3 separate regions of the Homo sapiens genome follow, and all the other regions are linked to region 3. Evidence: promoter capture Hi-C in 16 types of primary human blood cells and fetal thymus (Javierre and others, 2016). All regions are on one chromosome and are shown on one strand. The core of a region is centred on a gene start or on the middle of the fragment in contact, and the rest is flanking DNA. Distances in the headings are between cores, read along the strand shown.

Evidence for each region. The method cuts DNA at HindIII sites, captures the fragments that hold promoters and counts their contacts. A CHiCAGO score of 5 or more calls a contact.
Region 1: a contact is called between a fragment that was not itself captured here and the fragment with the promoter of MRPL44 in region 3, in 8 of 17 cell types (megakaryocytes, naive B cells, naive CD8 T cells and 5 more). The highest score is 8.4, in megakaryocytes.
Region 2: a fragment that was not itself captured here is called in contact with the fragment with the promoter of MRPL44 in region 3 in 1 of 17 cell types (megakaryocytes); the score reaches 7.3 in megakaryocytes.

The regions. Positions count from the first base shown.
Region 1 is chr2:224,286,144-224,289,934 of GRCh38, reverse strand. No RefSeq gene overlaps it. Among named protein-coding and RNA genes, the nearest start is that of FAM124B, 110 kb to the left of the region's middle. The HindIII fragment of the contact is 8,711 bases long and covers 1-3,791 here.
Region 2 is chr2:224,268,935-224,272,561 of GRCh38, reverse strand. No RefSeq gene overlaps it. Among named protein-coding and RNA genes, the nearest start is that of FAM124B, 130 kb to the left of the region's middle. The HindIII fragment of the contact is 8,330 bases long and covers 1-3,627 here.
Region 3 is chr2:223,955,559-223,959,439 of GRCh38, reverse strand. MRPL44 (mitochondrial ribosomal protein L44) reads right to left here and starts at 1,977. Exons shown (of 4, transcript NM_022915.5): 1 at 1,789-1,977. The coding sequence starts at 1,967. RefSeq lists an enhancer at 1,893-2,062 and a silencer at 2,133-2,202. The HindIII fragment of the contact is 10,687 bases long and covers 1-3,881 here.

The DNA.
Region 1 (3,791 bases), core at 586-3,085, 330 kb before region 3:
CCATCCTGGCCAACATGGTAAAACCCCATCTGTACTAAACATACAAAATTTAGCTGGGCATGGTGGCACGTGCCTGTAGTCCTAGCTACTCGGGAGGCTGAGGCAGGAGAATTGCTTGAACCTGGGAGGTGAAGGTTGCAGTGAGCCGAGATCGCCACTGCACTCCAGCCTAGTGATAGAGCAAGACTCTGTCCCCCACCCCCAAAAAAAAGAAAGAAAAAAAAAACACATCTAAAATACCTGTGACTAGAATAGAAAAGTAAAAATAAAAAGTGACAGCAGATTTGAATGAGAAACATAATTTTAGAAATAAGATAAATGTAACAAGCAAAATTATAATCCCCGTAGAAATAATCCACAATACAACTTGGAGGAAAATAAAAGGAAAATCAATTCTAATGAGAGATTAAAGATATATGTTTCATATTTTTCTTGAGTTTCAGAAGGAGATATAAGAGAATGAGCTCCACACCTAGACATATCATAAACGTCTCTTCAGAAAATCAAAGAAAAAGAGAAAAAGGATAATCTTCAAAGGGCCAATATTTAGAGAGTCATAGCTAACTTCCCAACATCAACAATGAAAATCAAAAAAATGTTATCTTGTATATATTTTTGAATGAAGTCATTTTAAACAAATGAAAGAGTTTTTCTATAAGTGGACCCTCATTAAAAAATTACAGGCTGGGCACAGTGGCTCACACCTGTAATTCCAACACTTTGGCAGACTGAGGTGGGAGGATCCCTTGAGCTCAAGAGACCAGCCTGAGTAACATAGTGAGAACCGTCTCTATTAAAAAGAAAAGTAACAGATGGTTTATTTCAATCAGGATAAAACTGATTCTACATGGAAGAGTTGAGATGTAATAATAAACAAAGAATTAAAAAGCAAACTAAAATAATTGTGGAATGTAATAATAATAATAGTAATGAATTATAATACACCCCATAATAATATATAAGTTGGAAGGGGATAAGTTGAATTGAAAAGTTTTCTTCAAGGTCCTTATATTTTGCAGAAAATAAAGGTGCTAACTGTAGACATTGATACGTTAATACACAAGTTGTAACTTTGGGTAATAATTAAACGAATAAAAGAACAACGTATAATTTCTAAATTACCAGAGAAAAACAACAGAATGATTAAAAAATTGATTTATTCAAAAGAAGTCAAGAAAGAAAAGGATAAAAATAGGTAAGATAAAATGCATTGGTTACATATTGCTACATAACGAATTATCCCCAATCTAGCAGCTGAAAACTACAGGCTGGATACGAAAGTGGAAATATCTAGAATTTGTTTACAAAATAGATATGTGAATGAACATGAATAAGTACTAATACATTAGTTTTAGTTAAAATGAAGATGTGTGTGCTTGTGAAAGACTGTATTATTCTCCATTCCCCTAATTAGCATATGTCATGAGCTGTCAATAAATATCCTCAAAACTAAGATTCTCATGACTGCATGACTGCATTGTAAAGTATGTTGCATCAAATGAACATAATTTATATAATTGTTCTTTTATTATTGAACATACAGATATTTATCTGCTCTTCACAATAGTGAACATAAACATTCATGAACATGAAATTTTGGTGAATTTTTAGCATATATTTCATGTTGGTTGTGAGCAACAGAGAACCAAAATAACAACAGTGGCATAATGACAGGTGCTTTTTATTTCTTTGTAACACGAAATTCTACATTTAAACATCCCATAGAACCATGAGTGGCACTGCATCTCCTTGGTCATCTGGGACCCAAGCCACTTCCAGTTTTCTCATCTAACACTAATGGAGTGAGGATCTCATCTTTGCGATCCAAGATGTAGCCTCACCATCCATTTACATTCCAAGTGGCACAAAACAGGAGAAAAGACTTACTGCAGCTGCCTTTTAATGACATTTCTCGGGAGCTTATACATAATACTTTCAGTTATATCCCATTGGCTAGAATTTAGTCAGTTTCTGTCTAACTGTAAGGATGGCTGGGATATGTAATGTTTATTCTGGGCAGCCACATGCCCAGCTAAAATTCAGAATTTAATTACCTAAAAATTAAAGAGACAATGGATATTAGGGGAAAATTAGCAAGTTCAGCTATGGGTTCTCAGCAGTGGAATTCCTGAGCCAAGCTATAATTTTGCTGTTTGAAGCCCTTGTTATATATGAGGACACACTGGTGCCAGAACGTCTCTACTGCTTAATCCTCCTTAAGCTGTGCATGAGAGAGTCTGCACACTTGTCACGTCCTTGCCAACACCCAATACTATCATCCAAAATAAGTCTCTGCCAGTTTGATAGGAGGGAAAAATATCCTGTTTATATTTGCATTACTTTGACAATAAAAAGAGCTAAACTTTTCCATGTATTTGCTGGTCATTCATATTTCTTTTTGTGAATATCCTATGTCCTTTGTCTACCATTAAATTAATATTTAGCTAGCTATAGTATTATATGGTTTGAGTGTGTCAGGAGGAAATTTTTCTTTGCAGTAATTAGGATTTTATAAAATCCTACTTTTATAGGAAACCTTTTTATGGAATAAACAACTGTTGAAAAGTAACTAGCAAATTTTTATGTAGTTTTCTTATGACTGAGAAAACTCAGACTCAAATATGGCTTTGTCTGATGTCACAGGCAAACCAGGAAGACGGGAAAATAACATCAAGTACAATCAACTATGAGTTTTCTTAATTCTTTGGAAAGAGTTAAATCACTGACATTTTAGCCCTTTCAAAAACAGGCTCTTCTCTCAGTCGGGTTGATCATTTGATGGTTGTGGTTCAGTTCAGTGTATGAGAAAAGTCATCCTGTGGGTAGGGACAGGCACTTGAATTGCCTTCCCAGTGGTGACAAAAGGAAATGCCATCATCCAAATGAGACTGCAAAAATGCTAGTGATTATTGCTAGCTCCTGCATTCAGTTTCCCTGTCATCCAGATTATCCTAATGAAATTTTCAAGTTGAACCTGGTATAAACATACTTTTAAAATACACATTTTTATTGGATAGTCAAGCTGATTGCACTGTTTTCATAAACAGAGTTTGTTTATGCTTTACTTCGGGCGATCTGAGCATGCCCGCCTTTACTGCCTCAGCACAGGTAGCCTTGGCAGATGCTGTCCCCTTCCAAGTGGCAATAGCGAGGATGTGGAGCTCACCACCATATGTGGGTCATGTTGGTGGTTCTTATGCAGGATCCCTTGCAGAGTGGTTGAGGATAAAAATTCCCACCTATTTCCTGCAGCCTTGGACAGCAATCATCACTCCATACAAAAGTTGACATGTATGTTGAGTGTATATGTAATCTAAAAAAAGTTTCTGTAAGTGAGTAAATTATCTTAACAAGTGGACCTATAACACACAGTTCACCCTACTTGAGCTGGGTTTATGGATCCCTGCTCGCCCGCACCACCATGATACCATTTCATAAGGGAATCCTAAAATGCCCCCCGTTAGTAGCTGTTATCCATATCTGCAGATACTTTGTTAGTAATAGCTCCTTAATGGGTAGAAATGGTAGGGTAAGTCTTAGCTGTTGATTTGATAGTGAAATTAATCCTTGAGTTAGCTATTTTCAAAGAAATGAGGAAAAGCCCTTGTTTTTAAGGAATAACATTTCCTGTTTCAAATTTGCCTTTCAATTCTCCTTCCTGCTATTTGAGTGGATGATAAATCATTTATAATTAATGTCCTTAGGATTTTTCCATGTGGATAAATACTGGTGATTGGCAATTTGGGCCTCTGCATACATGCTCCTGTTAAAATGAGTAAGAGATAAAACTA
Region 2 (3,627 bases), core at 413-2,912, 310 kb before region 3:
CAGGGTTTTTGTCATGATTGTGTCTTGGACTTTGGCCCTGTTCTCTATATAGGGAGGGTTTCAAAAGAAGAGGGCTCAGACTGTCAACAAACTTATCTTCTGTCCTGGGTCAGTGACTTCAGAGGGTCAACTTCTCAGTATGACACGGTCTTTGAAGACTTCTGTGACCCTGCTACTTTGTGGCACCCTCTCCAGATGCAGCACTGCCCACCCCCTGCCCAGCCGTGATTTATCTGCAAAGGTAGAACCCTCTCCTTTTCCACACATGCCTATTTAGGAGATTAGTGACTCATCATGTATGTTGTCTTTCTCTTTCCTGTATTCCTGGAGAGTTCTGGGTCTCCCTTTACTTCTTAGACTTGAATACATGTGTATGGGAGCTGGATGTACAAAAACCACATCAGGCAGCAAGCTCCTATCTTCTTTATGTCCTTATTGATGTTACTGTGCTCTGGTTATGCTCTGCCCAAGTATAACCATGTTCAGTCCCTGCTGCATGTTTTCCAGGCTGCTGGCACCTAGGCTCCTCTCTCCCTCACAATTCACCTGCAGTGCTAAGCAGGGCATTCTTTGCCCCAGCCATCACTAGCAGAACAGAGGAACACAGGGATCAGGTTGAAGCTGAGAGGAAGGACTCCCACAGAAGACTCTGTGCCATAGGAGTAACCAAGTTAAGGTTCAGACACAACAGACTACTTGTAAACACCACATTCTCTACATTAGAGGTGAGATGGAGGCCAATGCTGTAAACCCAAGGGTTCTGAGGCTGCCAAAAAAAGCGGGGGGGTTAAAGAATTTGGAACAGGATATAGTGATTTAGCTGGATTGAGATGTACAGCTACAGTTAGGCTGGATTAAAATGCAAGAGGTAAAGAAACAAAAGAAAATAATACCTGGGATTCTTCCCTATAATCTAAGACTTCCTCAGCATCATTACTGCAGGGTTAGTGATCTGCTAATAGACACTGTGTATGTGCTTGTTTGTGTAGTGATAGAAGAATGAGGTGGACACATGCTGATTGTTGACCAGTATGATTGGGAAGGGCATCAAATATCACTTTGGTCTTTATTGACTAAATATTTTGGAAATATACGTATTCCTTAGAGAATGAGTCTCCTGCAATTTCAATCTTCCAGTAGTAATCATTGTTAACAGTGTGATGTCTATTCTTCCTATTCATATATTAAAATAAATGCACATGTACCCACACATAGATATTTCATACACCAATGGGATCATCCATAATCCTGTTCTGTAGCTTGGTTATTCTGCTACCAATGTATTTTAAGTACCACCATTTAAAAAATGAATTTGGAAACAAAATATATGAATATTTCCTGAAAATTTTCCTGAAGAGCATCAGATTTGATTACATCTCTAAAGAAGCACCAGGGAGAAGTTTAAAAGATACTAATGATTAAGTCTGGAACACTTCTTAGAATCAATGATTACATTTCATAAACTCATTTTTTTTAAGTGAAAATCATGCTGGTACAGAATTAGATAATCTCAATGTGAAAATTGCAGCAGTCACCAGCTGACAACCAATGAAACACAGATGTAACTTTGGAGTGTGTTAGCTATTTAACAGGTTCAAATCAGATCAGAAATTATGAGAGTCAGATTAATAACTGAAATTCTAACATGTTCCACGGTGCATGCTTAACATTTTGCTCTCTTTGCCCTTGACATCCATTTTTAAAAACTGGCTGTGATTATTAAAGTATCACATTCTGAACTATAGTGTTAAGTTAACAAGCGATTACACCAGGGCCATCAAGGTCAAAGGTTGAAACCACATAAATAGTAGAAATTAATGAACTAAGACCTCTAGCTTCTAGGTTCCAGCCAACCTTTCTTTTTGATAAAACACTTTCTATTTTGAGAGAATTACAGACTCACAAGAAATTGCAAAAATATTACCAGGAGACACTGCGTACCCATCCCCCAGCTTCCTCCAGTTGTAACTAACATCTTACTTAACAACAGTACGTTATTAAGCCTAGGAAATTGACATTAGAACAGTACAATTAACTAGACTACAGATATTACTTGGATGTCACCAGATTTTGAATACACTCTTTTTTTTTACATGCTCTGTGCATAGTTGTATGATTTTACCCCACGTATAGATTTGTGTAACACCAGAGCTAACAAGACACGGAACTGCTCCGTTACCATGAGGGAGTTCCTTAGCACTACTCTTTTATGCTCAGATCCTTCTCTCCCTCTCTAAGTCCTGGCAACCACTGATCTATTCTCCATTTCTATAATTTTGTCATCTCTGTATTTTTGGCTTTATGACATTCTTTACTACCTCACAATCAATATTTCTGGTGCAGATCTTCTCTGAAATGTCCATCTGGTCCCATTCAGTCTTCCATATTTTGAGGCCTGGAGTTCCTTGATTCAATCAGCCATAAAGGTCACAGATGATCAGTGGTTGATACTGCAGTGAAGAAAGCAAGATCCGTAGAATCTAACGCCAGTGACAATGAGAACTGGACTCAGCCTAATTTCACCAATGTATTTCTGGGGCTATTGTAACAAAGTACTGCACGCTGGGTGGCTTAAACAACAGAAATGTATTGTCTGATGGTTTGGGGGCTGGAAGTCTGAGGTCAGGCTGTTGGCAGGGCCATGCTTTCCCTGAAAGTACCAGGGAAGGATCGGTCTTATGTGTCCCTCTTACCTTCTGGTAGTCTCCTGACTCATGGCAGCACAACCTGTCTTCATAGGATGTTCTGCCGTGTGCATGTCTTTACATCATGCTCTGTCAATACATCTCTCTCTCTGCCTCTCTGTGTCCACATTTTCTCTCTTATAGGGACACCAGTCATATCGGATTAGGGCCCACTCTAATAACCTTATTTTAACTTGATTACCTCTGTAAAGATCCTATCTCCAAATAAGGTCACACTTTAAGGTACTAAGGGCTAGAACTCCAGTATACTATATTTTTTGGGAGGACACAATTTAACCCTGTGAAGAAGTTCCCTGAAAAGAGATTTAGAAAAAAGAGGTTTTATTCCAGTGAAAAGTTGCAAACTGCAGAGATGTAGCTTCAGTATTAACTGGAAGTGCATTCCAGATAATAAGAAAAGGGTTTATTTTTTATAGAGAGTGTGCCCACCTAGGTTCCCTCTCAGGTCCTCTTATGTGAATGAAGGATTCAAACTTGCTTAGTTTTGATTGCTTGATCTTTGATGAGTTCTGATTGGTTATTTAGGTCACAGCCTATTAGGTGGTTTAGGTGGCATAAATAGGAACAGTGAAAGTCCCAAAGTTAAGCTGACCTGCAGGTTTTCCAAAAACTCAGGGCGTATCTGTGACCTTTAGTTAACAAATGGCCTAAACTGAACTATTGGAAACTACTGTCTACATGGTGAAATCCAAGAAAGATGGCCAGGCGCGGTGGCTCAGGCCTGTAACCCCAGCACTTTGGGAGGTCGAGGTGGGTGGATCACCTGAGGTCAGGAGTTTGAGACCAGCCTGGCCAACATGGTGAAACCCCATCTCTACTAAAAATACAAAAAAATAGCTGGATGTGGTGGTGGATGCTTGTAATCCCAGCTACAGGGGAGGCTGAGGCAGGACAATTGCTTGAACAAGGGAGGCAGAGGTTG
Region 3 (3,881 bases), core at 728-3,227:
AAAGGAAATGAAAGAAGGTTATATTTCTTTTTAATGCCAGGTTGATATTCTAAATGTTAAGACTAAAGTCAGATAAATACTGGCAGTCCTTTGCTATATTCTACATATATGACTGGATTAATTTTCCCTTTGATCCAATTGTCACATGAAATTGGTTCTTCAATATAAAAGACCAAGCCATTAGCCTAACTTTTAGGTTCCTTATTTCTGCTCTAACCATGATACTATGTTTTATACCTAAGTATGAAGCATAAATGTTAATTTCACAGATTCAAGCCATAAACACTAGTATGTTATATTTGCAGTCATCCCTCAATATCTGTAGGGGATTGGTTCCAAGGACTCTCCTGGATACTGAAATTCATGGATGCTCAAGTCTCTCATATAAATGGTGTAGTACAGGCACACTTCGTTTCACTGTACTTCGGTCTATTGTGCTTCACAGATTTATTGCATTTTATTTTTACAAACTGAAGGTCTGTAGCAATTCTGCATGTGCTCACTTTGTGTCTCTGTGTTACCATTTTTTAGCAATAAAGTATTTTAAATTAAGGTACATATATTGCTTTTTAGACACTACTACTGTACACTTAATAAACTACAGAATAGTATAAACATAACTTAGGTATACACTGGGAAACTAAAAAAGTCATGTGACTCGTTTTATTGTCGTGGTCTAGAACCAACCCTACAATATGTATGAGGTATACCTGTATCTGCATATAACCTATGCACATCCTCCTGTATACTTTAAGTCATCTCTGGATTACTTATACGTAACACAATATAAAACCCCTTTAAGAAACAAAGGGAAGCAAAGTATGAAAACCTAGGTTGAAAGTCGTAAGATATACATATAACATATACACCTATATAATCTGTCCAACCCATAAAGTTTCTTCCACCTTTGAGAGCCTAAAATACTTAATCTTATAATAAACAAGGGAATGGGAATTAAGAAGAGATTTTATTTTTTGCTATAATCTTCTCTGTTAGAAGACCGTTCCTACTGGTAGGAGTACAAAGTGGATCAACATTTTTTGGAGGGCAATGTTAAAGTACTAATAGCTTTCAAAATTTCATACTACACATGCGTCCCCTTTACGCGCTGTTACATAGGTTTTAATGGCAATAATATGGAGCTCATAGGCCCATATATACAGAGCCATAAAAAAGAGTGAGGTACATATCTTTGTAATACCATGACAACATGTCAAACACACATTATTAAAGAGAAAAAGCAAGATGAAGGAATTTAAATTATGTAAAGTATGATCTGGTTTGAAGCTATAAAAACCTGTGTCTCTCTCTGCCAAACCTGTTACCAGAACAGCATTAATTAGGGCAAAAATCTAAAGCTAACTTTTTTTCCTTTTACTCTAGACAGCAGAATTCAGGTTGTAGATTAATTTTTTTTCTCCTTAATTTACGATGCTGTGGGCTGCTTTCTTCCCGCTTATCGGAATTCTCAGGCATTACAAACGGGGACTACAACATCCAAGTCCACATAAGGAAGACCCTCCAGTTAGCCCCATTTCTCCCAATTTTCAGTAGCCAAAATCCTAAATGGTAGTTTCAAAACGTCGGGAACAGCCCGAAGCTCTACCGCCCGCGGCACAAATCCATTTTTTTTGCCTCAGGCCCCGCGCCCACAGCTCACGGGTGTCTCCATCGCAAACTTCCTAAGGCTTAACCCAGGGGCGCATCAGCCGCAGACACGACGCCGCGGGAAGAAGACCCAGTGTCTGCGACCGCCACCCTGAGACCTCTTCCCGAGGTGGCTCCTACCGGCGCACGGGCGGCGGCGGGCACCGCAGAAGGCGCTGCCGCTCTAACTCCTTCTGGAAGCGGAAGGCGGCGCGGAATCCCTTCTTCACTCCCCGAACCGGAGGGACCAGCTTGGGGGCGACTGGAGCCAGGAGGCAGCGATGTCCCTGCTGCAGCAATCTTACCAGCCCGGACGCCATTGCACGAGAGAAAACGATGGAAGACGGAACGAAAGTAGTCGGGCCAGTGTCCCCGTAACACACTTCCCCCGGAACCCGGAACGCGGAACGCGAAGAGAAGGCTGGGGCGGAGACAGCCCCCGGGGCGGGGCGACTGAGAGAGGGCAGGGGCGGAGACAGCCCCGGGGCGGGGTGATTGCGGCCGCCTTGAGGCTACGCTTGCGCTAGTTCTCTCCTCTCTTCGAGTTACTTTCCAATGATCCGGACTTGAGGGCGTTTGCGCCCAAAAGTTTCTGGGAGAAGTTGCTTCACCCTGTCACTCTCTTGTTCCTTCCTCTCTCGTTACAGCAAAACAAACAAAAATCTGTTTCGCTTTCAGGTTAAGGAAACATTTAAATCCTCAAAAAAAGAAAACATTTTTAATTTATATTTAGTGTTCTAGGCCACTACTGAGCAAGTATTTACCGAGCTTCTATTTTTGACCCAGCACGCCTCCAAAAGCCTTAGTTTTGGAAACCCTAGACTCAGAAATGTTGGCTTATCCAAAATTAAAATTTTTCTTTAAAAGCAATCTAATAGTACATATTTTTAAACATCCGGAAAATGACTGGAAAAAAACATAAAACGGTAATAGGGGAATTACAGTTTCTTCCTTCTTTATGTTAACACTCTTTAACAATGTAATTCTATTGCTTTCCTACCAAACTGTTAATACAGTACAATTTTTAAAAGAACATATTAAGTCACAAAGGGAGGCTTGTTTGAATTCCCAGTTTTGAGTTGCCTGCTGAACATCTAGACCCTCAAAGGGGCAATGCTTTCTGTGATCTCTTTGTTAAAGGCATCTGTGTCCCCAGCAGTCACCCAGATTGAACTCCTATGTCTTTGATTGTTTTTGTTTCGACAAACCCCCTCTTCGGTGCAGTTTCCACCAAGTGCTTTTTCCATTTATTTCCACTGCAGGTACCTGGTGGCTCTCCTCACCTCTTTCCGTGGTTAGTGTAATTGGCCTGGTACCTTCCTCCCTTCCCCAGACACAGCTCACCTACATTCATCTCTCTGAAACACAGACCACAAAGCATGTTATGACTTAGCCCGAGAATCTTCAGTGCCAGGATCATAGAACTCAATTTGGGTTTCTCAGCTTGACCATTTCAAAAGGGAGAATCTAAATGGTTCATCTCAGCTTATAAAAGGGTTCCCTTTGGGGAGGGAGAGAGCAAAAGAGGGGCTGAGCACACACCAAAAAACAAACTGATGGATTTCTGGTTGAAGGAAATTCTCCAAGAAGGGGTGAAAGGAGGTTACGATTGACCTTCTTGTTTCAATGTATGTAAAGTATTGAAAATTCATGGAACATCAATCCAATAAATGGATTAGGAGAAAATGCAGGGAACTGTCATTTCTGTAGAATTTCATTTATTAGGAAAAATAATCTAAGCCAGTTGTAGCACAATCATGTTAAGTTAAAATGAGGTGTCTCTGTGTTGAGAGTTTCTCAGTCATACAACAACGAGAGCATCATTTGCAGATTAAAAAAATGTAGGTCCTCAAAAGATTTCTTCTACTAATGCCCTTCATGGAACTTAGGAATTAACCAGTTTTTTAAAATCTGCTCATACATTTGTCTATTTATTCAATAAACACATAATAGGAGGAGGACTTGGTTCCAGGATCCAGGCTCAGAAAACTTTAAGGAAGAAAAAGGCCAATGTGTTTTTCAGCCCTCAAAAACCTGATTTTTCCTTTAACCTGCTGTTAGCCCTAATTTGATCAAAGCTCACAGATGTCAACAACTTTCGAGTTTTCATTGGGTTAAGGTCAGGTGGAAGGGTGGGGAAAAGTCACACTTAGGAAGAGGAGGTGAGGCGATTGAGGGTTCACTTTAACCCTTGGGGAACACAACCTTTTGTGTTTTGATGCCAGGGATATTGC